Regions from separate parts of the Homo sapiens genome. Here region 1 is linked to region 2. The links are contacts of gene promoters, found by promoter capture Hi-C in blood cells and fetal thymus (Javierre and others, 2016). All regions are on one chromosome and are shown on one strand. Each heading gives the region's core, a stretch centred on a gene start or on the middle of the fragment in contact. The rest is flanking DNA. Distances are from core to core; before and after follow the strand shown.

The links. The method cuts DNA at HindIII sites, captures the fragments that hold promoters and counts their contacts. A CHiCAGO score of 5 or more calls a contact.
Region 1: a contact is called between a fragment that was not itself captured here and the fragment with the promoter of BHMT in region 2, in 1 of 17 cell types (erythroblasts). The highest score is 5.5, in erythroblasts.

Annotation. Positions count from the first base shown.
Region 1 is chr5:79,463,666-79,468,862 of GRCh38, forward strand. The region is part of intron 1 of HOMER1 (homer scaffold protein 1); the gene reads right to left. LOC107986426 (a long non-coding RNA gene) reads right to left here. Exons shown (of 3, transcript XR_001742758.2): 3 at 4,344-5,197. Among named protein-coding and RNA genes, the nearest start is that of HOMER1, 48 kb to the right of the region's middle. The HindIII fragment of the contact is 4,339 bases long and covers 237-4,575 here.
Region 2 is chr5:79,110,071-79,114,646 of GRCh38, forward strand. BHMT (betaine--homocysteine S-methyltransferase) reads left to right here and starts at 1,739. Exons shown (of 8, transcript NM_001713.3): 1 at 1,739-1,848. The coding sequence starts at 1,816. RefSeq lists an enhancer at 2,065-2,909. The HindIII fragment of the contact is 17,379 bases long and covers 1-4,576 here.

The DNA.
Region 1 (5,197 bases), core at 1,156-3,655, 350 kb after region 2:
TGGCAGTTCAGAACTATACAAGCTACACACTGGTCATTCATTCACTTCATAACACCACCCCACAGTATACACAATTTGATTTTGGGGTCCCCATTTAAAATTGTAGAACCAACAGAGCAATTTATAAGAATAACTGCATTGAGATGGGTGGGAAGAGGAAGAAATGGAAAGGTAAATGTGGAACTGGCAAAAATTCACCACTAGTTGACTTTCTGCAATAAGGATTTAAAATCCAAAGCTTTCAATTAAAAAAATAGTAATATAAGAGCTTATTAGAGCTATGGAGGCAACCACTAAAAGAAATAAAAATTACATTTTTTAAAAGTAGTTGCTTCTGGGGATGGGGCTCAATTACTTCGCTTTCTTATCCTTTAGGTATTGTTTAATTTTTCTTAACCTTGTATAGGTATTAAAATATCTTTCTAAAATGGCACTGTGAAGAAATTACACTTACATAACAATTAACGATGGAAAATAATGCTTTAGGGGCCATTTTTGAAGACTGCCAAAGAATCAAAGAATGACAATTTTAACAGGTTGGAACTCAACTGAGAGGAATAAGGGAAAGTAGGAGAGGAGCGAAATCCAAACATGCCTAACTGTAGGACTACAGGTGCTGAAGGTACATCCAATTCCCGACAAAAACATCCCCCTTGATTTGAAGTAAACAGGAAAGTAAGACAAAAAACATTCTACCCTCAGCTTGCTTTTGGGTGACTGAAGTGGCAAGAGAAGCTGAACAATACTTGTTCAGGCCAAAATGAGAATGACAAGGATAAGTCCAGGAATAGACGGACACTAATTACCATTTAACTTGATAGGTAATGGCTGGAGAATTTAGTTTCAGTGCCACTATGAAGTGGCATAGCATGACTTTGGATGCAGCAGCTCAAGCACTGGAATTTCCTAGAAAGAATTATCCTGTACAACTTAATAATATAAATTGAAACTCCACACGATTATCAGGGAACTGGTTTAAATCTCACCACCTCCTCTCTTTCTCATACATATATCCTACCCCATGAAAAATCTCATTAAGATACCTGTTTTGATGCTGCTCAGAGATTATGACTGCATAATATAACATACTACCAACTGTATGTCCCTATGCCATGATATGTGTAATAAGCTGATTGCTTATACATACAATGTTCTTTTTTAAAAACCATATACGAACTTTGAAGAATGCAAAGGTTTTTCTGCTAATGGCTACCCAACACATAATTATACTGCAACAACTCCACCTAGTGATGAACCAAAAATATAGCAGGTGCATGTTTTTTAAAACCTGGAAGTTACTCTATAGCAAATACAAAATTGTAAAGTAACCTTGCTATAATAGAAGTATCGAGACTTCTGGAAGGATTTTTTTTTTTAATTGTATGATCTGGCCAGGCACAGTGGCTCACCTCTGTAGTCCTAGTGCTGTGGGAGGCCAAAGCGGGAGGATCGCTTGAGCCCATGAGTTCCAGACCAGGTTGGCCAACAGCAAGACCTCGCCTCCATAAAAAATTTAAAAATTAGCTGGCTGTGGTGGCACATGCCTATAGTCTCAGCTACTCAAGAGGATGAGGCAGGAGGATCATTTGAGCCCAGGAGTTGGAGGCTGCAGCGAGCTATGATTGTACACCACTGCATTCCAGGATGGGTGACAGAGCAAGACCCTGTCTCTTTAAAAAAGAAAAAAAAATGTATGATCTGAATTCCTTGATCTTTTAATCTGTTGGGTGAACACTGAAATTAAAGGTTTTAAAAAATAATTGTTTGCATTATAGTTATCAGAAATATTTTCATGACATTAAGTATTTAATTGATGTATTTGAAGAAAATATCAAATCTAAAATTTCCATTTGGAAATTAAGATTCTTAAATTATATAAAAATACACTTAAAGAGTAACAGTACTGTTTACATTTCTTCTTTTTTTTTTTTTTTTTTTTTTTTTTGAGACAGAGTCTCGCTCTGTCGCCCAGGCTGGAGTGCAGTGGTGCAATCTTGGCTCACTGCAAGCTCCACCTCCCAGGTTCACGCCATTCTCCTGCCTCAGCCTCCCGAGTAGCTGGGACTACAGGCACCCGTCACCACACCCTGCTAATTTTTTGTATTTTTTAGTAGAGATGGGGTTTCACCGTGTTAGCCAGGATGGTCTCGATCTCCTGTCCTCGTGATCCGCCGGCCTCAGCCTCACAAAGTGCTGGGATTACGGGCGTGAGCTACTGTTTACATTTCTTATATGTCACCTCTTACTTTAAGAGTAGTTTTTATAATCTATAGGACATGGTATTAGTTATTAAGAGATTTTAGTACTTACTCTTGGCCACTTTAATAAGTAGCTATAAAGTATTAAGGAATATGCTGAAATTCAGAGTAAAAAGCAAGCAACCTCATTCAATGCACATTTAAGCAACATCTTCAATGTTCAAAGAAACTTGCTTGGTATGTATTAAATAACTGCCAAGTGACTTTGTCCTTACCACCCATTAAAAACCCCATCCATTTCAGGTAAAATTTCAGTGTTTAAAAATATATCAAGTATGCCTGATAGATCACATTTAAAATTACATTTTTAGGCTGGGTGTGGTGGCTCATACCTGTAATCCCAGCACTTTCGGAGGCTGAGACAGGCAGATTGCCTGAGCCCAGGAGTTCAAGACCAGCTGGGCAATATGGGGAAACCCCATCTCTACAAAAAATTAGCCGGGCATGGTGGCGCACACCTGTGGTCCCAGCTACTTGACAGGAGAGATCACCTGAGCCAGGTAAGTCAAGGCTGCAGTGAGCTGAGATCGTGCCACTGCACTCCAGCCTGGCCAACAGAGGAGACCCTGTCTCAAAAATAATAATAATAATAATAATAATAAATAAATTACAATTAGAATTGATATGGCACATTCCATTTTACTTGACTTTAAATATTCTCCTCTTCCCAAATGATTTCCACTAACTCAAGCTAAATTCTGAGAACTGACAGTATATGCCTGGGAAATCTAAAGAAAGTAATCTCTTGTTAATAACTAGAATTTAATTATTGTTAATATAGGTAGTACTATTTGACCTATTGCCAAATAGGTTAAACTCCTGGCGTTTTATTAAAAATCTAAGTGATTTCCCAATAGACATCCAGTTCTTAAAAACTATTTTTTTTTTAGACAGAGTCTCACTCTGTCACCAAGCTGGAGTGCAGTGGCACAATCTCGGCTCACTGCAACCTCTGCCCCCTGGATTCAAGCAATTCTCCTGCCTCAGCCTCCCAAGTAGCTAGGATTACAGGTGTGCACCACCACACTTGGCTAATTTTTGTATTTTTAGTAGAGATAGGGTTTCACCATGTTGGCCAGGATGGTCTCGATCTCTTGATCTTGTGATCTGCCTGCCTCGGCCTCCCAATGTGCTGGGATTACAGGTGTGAGCCACTGTGCCCGGCCTTAAAAACTTTAAAAACAAATGAATTAGGCTGGGCGCAGAGGATCAGGCCTGTAATCCTAGCACTTTGGGAAGCTAAGGCGGGCGGATCACTTGAGGTCAAGACCAGCCTGGTCAACATGGTGAAACCATGTCTCTACTAAAAATAAAAAAATTAGCTGGGCGTGCTGGCAGGGGCCTGTAATCCCAGCTACTCAGGAGGCTGAGGCAGGAGAATGGCTTGAACCTGGGAGGCTGAGGTTGCAGTGAGCCGAGATTGCACCATTGCATTCCAGCCTGCGCAACAAGAGTGAAACTCCATCTCAAAAAAAAAAAAAAAAAAAAAACTAATGAAATGCTATAAAGGCCATTTAAGTGCTAATATCACCTTCAACGAACAATCATAATACTCTAAGGTACACTTTTCTACTTGCTACAAACTAAATGAGTGGATGTTCAGTCCATATAATATCTAAACAAATAAATATTCTAATAAGTAAACTCAGGATTGAAGAGAAAGATTCAGAGATACTTGAACAAAATGTTAACATTTGTGAAATTTGAAAAGTGGATATGTGTATAGTATTCCCTGTATTATTGTGAATATTTTAAATTGCTCAAAACAAACAATAAAACGTCACAGCACTTCTCTAGTTCTTATTGACAATGCAAAATTTGAATAATCGGCCACATTTTACTTTATATAATATAGGCCGGTGTTTTGTTTTGAGACAGGGTTTTGCCCTGTTGCCCAGGCTGGAGTGCAGTGGTGCGATCAGAGCTCACTTCAGCCTTGACCTCTCAGGCTCAAGCGATCCTCCTGCCTTAGCCTCCAGAGTAGCTGGGACTACAGATGAGCGTGCACCACCACATCCAGCTTTTTTTAGTTTCTAGAGATGGGGTTTCACTGTTACCCATGCTGGTCTCAAACTCCTGGGCTCATGCGATCCTCTCACTTTTCGGCCTCCTAAAGTGCTGCGATTAAAGGTATGAGCCACCATGCCCAGCCTAGGTCATTTAACTGCCACATAACAATACATGTTATGATTAGAATTACACTATCCAGTATGGTAGCCACTAGCCACCTGACCACTACGCATGTGAAATTCAGCTGGTGCAACTGAGAAAGTGAATTAATTTAAACTTTATCTGATACTCAGTTCAGTGTCTGAAAAGCTTTTAAATATATATGGAACAACCTGGGTATGTGAATCTACTTTTTCCAACAGAAATTTTATGAAATTTAAATTCAGATCAAGTATTTCCAATAAACATTTAACATTCAAATTGAGATGTGCTCTAAATGCAAAATACATAATGGATTTCAAAGACTTAGTATTTTTTTAAAAAATGTAATGTATCTCCATGACTTTTACATTAATCACTTTTAAAAAGATAGCATTTTGGATAAACTGTGTCAAAATATATAAAAATTGATTTTGACTTCCTTTTTAGAACCTTAAAACTAAATTTCAAATAACATATGTTGTTCACATCATATTTCTAGTGGAGAACGTTGGACTAGACAATATTTTCTGTAGCTATTTCCTTATCGACAGACATATAAGTAGTTCTCATTTTTGCACTGTTACAAAATAGCATTACAAACAATGTTCCTGTATGTTTTCTTGTGCACGCACACAAGAGATACACTAGAAGCAGAATTCCTAGTCATAGGGTATTGGTACAGGTCACAGCACCTGTACCAATTTACACTCATTAGTTTTATACTACACTCTCCTAACATTTGGTAATGTCCACGTAACATCTTTAATTTGTGCCAATTTTGGACATGA
Region 2 (4,576 bases), core at 489-2,988:
CGGCTGCTCCCTGCAGCCACCGCGGGGCTCACTCTAGACCTGTTCATCTCACCAGTGCTCACCAGGTGAATACCTTAACTAGTTAACGCATTAACTAACTAAACTGTTACCTATTCGGATACTCCAATGCCTTCAAGGTGTTTTTTTTTTTTAATCTAGGTACTGTGAAGAATGACTTTACCTCATGCCTCATTCTTGCTGACCCCAGATCACAGTTGGGGGTGGAGGAGCCAATGAAATAATAGATCACTTGAATAACAGTATATCCTTTCACCTTTTCATTTCTTTTTCCATTTTAAACTTGACATACTTAGAAGCAAAAGGACATTTTTACTTTCTCAGTTGTATTTCAAACACATGTCACTTTAGCCGTTAAATTTGTATTAATTCATCAGGTGTTGCAGTAACTTTCTTCTCTGCATGTGTTGAAATGGAGGTTGTTTGTCCACATACAGAATTTTTTTACATGCTTTTATTTGGGTAAAATTTTCTGAACTGTGTTTCAGATATTTCATTGTTCTGTAGGCTATTTACTGTCATGCTGTACATTTTTTTTTCTTTTGAGACAGAGTTTCACTCTTTTTGCCCAGGCTGGAGTGCAATGGCACAATCTCGGCTCACTGCAACCTCTGCCCCCAGGGTTCAAGCGATTCTCCTGCCTCAGCCTCCCGAGTAGCTGGGATTACAGGCGCCTGCCACCATGCCCGGCTAATTTTTGTATTTTTAGCAGAGACGGGGGTTTCACCATGTTGGCCAGGCTGGTCTCGAACTCCTGACTTCAGGTGATCCACCCGCCTCACCCTCCCAAAGTGCTAGGATTACTGGCATGAGCCACCGTGCAGGCCATGCTGTACATTTTTTAAAGTAATGTTTTTATTATTTTAAAATCAATGTATTCTCATTATAAAAATATTTTGGAAAATACAGTGAAACATGAAGAATAAAATAAAACAAGCCTTAATTCCGCCATCAATAGGTAACTACTGTTAACATCTCTATTCCCTCCAGTTCTTCTAATGTCTATGTTTTTATATCGTTTTCATGCTGAATTTTGAAGTCTTCAAAGTACATTTCTGCTTCCATTTATAAATGTTAAAAGTCTGTCCTTGTTAAATATTACAAACATATTCTTATTAGAAACTACTGTGTTATTAGAAACTGCAAGGCATGTTTGGGTATAGGGGTAGAAGGTCATTTTGAACATACCCGCCAATTCAGGGTTAGTATTGGACTCCTCTACTAAAGCCGCATTTGTGTCCCGTTATACTGGATGTATATCACACAGGAGATCACACTCCAGGCTGAAGATCTTCCAGGACTTCATCCCCTGATTCCATAATCTTGACGCCTTGGCCTTTGACAAATATCTGAGCATCGAATGGACTTCTCAGAGGCCTCTCTGGCAGCCTAAGTGGGCCATGGTGCATGATCCCAGGTGAGCGAGAGGACGGTCAGGGTCGGGGCAAAAGTGCAAGAGGCAAAAGGGACGCTAGGCAGGTTTGAAATCTGAGCGAGTGGCAACCTCGCTTTTTCTTATCTTACTTTTCGGTGGTTCCACCCATTTGGGTGAACAATCTGGATTACCTCCTTGGCAGGCCAGGTTCCCAACAGGAGGCGGGCCTGATGAAGGGCTGGTGGGCGTGTTCCCGCCCAAGGTCCGTGTTGGCCCGCGCGGTGGCTGGGAGGCCCTCCCCACGCCCAACTGCGGGTATAAAGAGGCAGGCTGCGGACTCGGAGCAGCTCGGGGCTGCGCAGCGGGAAGGCTCGCCTAGTCGGTCCGCATCCGTGTCGACCACCTGTCTGGACACCACGAAGATGCCACCCGTTGGGGGCAAAAAGGCCAAGAAGGTGAGTCTCCAGGGGACCCGAGGGCGCTCTCCTTCCCCTCCCACCTGCTCTGTATCCCAGCCTCTGGGAGCGCAGAGGGGCCCTCGGACCCTGCCTGGTACCCATCATCCTCCTACTCCCTCCCCTCCCTCAGCCTCAGACCAGAATGTGCTTCCAGAACTTCTCCAGCAGGACCCCAAGGCGCCTCTGAGCCTCCCCACTCCTGCCCCACGTTCAGAGCGCGCCCCCAGAGCGCCTCTGTCCCCTCCAGCCCCAGCCCAGCTTGGACCAGAGTGCGCCCCAGATCTATGTGATCCTTGCCTCTCAGACCCAAAGGCACCCTCTGAGCCCTCCCTGACGGCTGGGTGTCCCCAGAACTCCGAGCCTTCCAATATCTTCTGAATCTGGCACCCCAAGACCAGAAAACTCCCTAGAGATACTGCTCCTAGCCCCGCAGGCGCGATATCCCGTCCCCACGGAGCCCCTCCGCATCTGTGTCCGAGGCCGCCGCGAGCGCCCTCTGCACCCGGCGCGCCCAGAACAGGGAGGAGTGCACGGCGCTGGCTCCGACATTTCCCGCCTGGATCTGCACCGCGGGTGTCGGGGCCGCCTCCCCGCCGGGTTCTCGCTGCACCCAAGGCCCAGGCGCTGGTTGGGTGATTGCAGATTTTCACAGGCAATTTGATGTCCGTGATGACAGAAAAATGTCATCCGAAATGTCAGCCTCGAAAACATGGTTTAAGAAAAAATGGGCAGAGTGGCTGTAAGATACTGAGGAAGGGCTGTTGATGAAATTGTAAAACCCAATTCCAGCTCCAGATGAACAAGTCCATCTCTTGGCTATCCCAGTGGCTTGTTGGGAGGGGTATTTTCAGTCCAGACGGTAGGCCTTCCTCTAATTTGGGGAACGGATGGATAGATGGACTGACTGCCGTGGAATGAGACTGGACAGGTGGGAAGAGAGAGAGAAGGATGGAGGGAGGAGAGAATAAACTTGACCTTTTGGTCAAATGCCCAGTCCCAGGCCTGGCACGACAGAGGCCCCCGGAAAATGGTAGGGAGGCAGATGGGGCCAGGCCAACTGTATCCTCTGGGCTGTAAGGACAGTGAGAAAGGTCCAGCTCTCATCCCAGTGCCTGCCCTGCTGGAGAACCAGCTGAGGTGTGCCCAGTTTCTAAAGGGATGGCCTCCCAAATCAAAAAGACCTCTACACAAGGAAGAAGGTCAATTCGGTTACAGATTCTAAATGCAGCATCGTGGATGCATGTTGATGGCATGAGTGGGTGTTGAGATGGCAAAGGACTATGGACTATCACCAGTCAAAGGAGGGTGAGAATTTCGCCAGTCCCTAAATGTACTAAATGAATAGTCCACAGAGACTGGGAAGGATGATTCCTATAGATATAGATATTTTTTGTTTGTCCCCATTCTCATAGCCACGTAAGTCTAACTTATTCCCCAAACTCAAACTCAGAAAATCTAACATTTTAAAGAATTATCTTTGTAGAATTATCTAAGCAACAGATGAATGTAAGATGGAAAAAACAGTTTCCTAGTAACTTGTTTCCGTGCATATGTCAGTGTTAAAACAATATATGGACAATAACATGTCTACACATTTGAGTTTAAAATTAAAATAAATGTTACAAAGTTTGCACATGTTCATTATAAACAATGAGGGAAAGCACAAAGAACAGTGCCTGTTAAATTCTGGTGTATATTCTGCTAGTTTGTTGTTGAGGCAAATATGCACTTCTTAGACAAAAATGGGCTGATATTACATATACTGTTTTGTAATACTTTTTCACAAAATGGTATATTTTTTTCATAGCACATTCCACCTTTTAAAAAGTCTGTTTAGCTTGGGAACAGAAAATCCTGAAGTCTAGATAATTTTAAAATGCAATAGAATGTAAGAGATCATATTTCCAGAGGTAACCACTCAACAAGTGCATGAGCCACATAGTAATTGAATCGCCACTACCCACCCTGCCACCCAGCATCAGATCCTTAGCTATGCTGCACATTAAAATGCTGTGGTACTAAAATTTGAAAACACACACGTTCAATGGGAGCTGCTAACTGCCCAAATGTCATGAATTATTTTATCCAAATAAAAGTTAGTAGCAAGTCATATCTCATTTAAGTGACCCTTGTTATGTTTTTTATGTAACTGTGCTGGCAGTAGTATATATATATATATATTTATATATATGTATACATATATATATTATTGTTGTTGTTAATTAGGTCATAATCAAAGTTGCAGTTTTCAGATGTGACATTTAGATACATTGCAATCATGACAAATATTTGGATTTCAAAATGACGTGTGAGCCATTTATATTTTTGTTGTGCTTTGTTATCTTATGGGCTCCCATAAGATAACAAGGCTTCAACACTATGGCTTGAAAATGTTTTGATCTGAAAGGTATATTAGGGAACACACAGCATAATCCTACCACTTTGCTTCTGTCTGGTGAAATGTCAATTGTTTCCTCTCTCTGAGCACCAGCTGTCCAAATGGCATGGGAAGGGGCAGTGGAGGGGAAGAGAATGAAAATGAGGGAGGTTCTAAGAAGGTGGCAAGGAATTGGGATGCAAAATCCTGTGACTGCCTCTCACAGATTTCTGGAATCTTGTTATTATGTCAGCTTTTGTTTTATCCACTGTTATTGGTAGTAAGTGGAACACACTGGGTAAATACGTCCCAAGTTATTCCTTTACACTATACAGTTTTTTTCAGGGC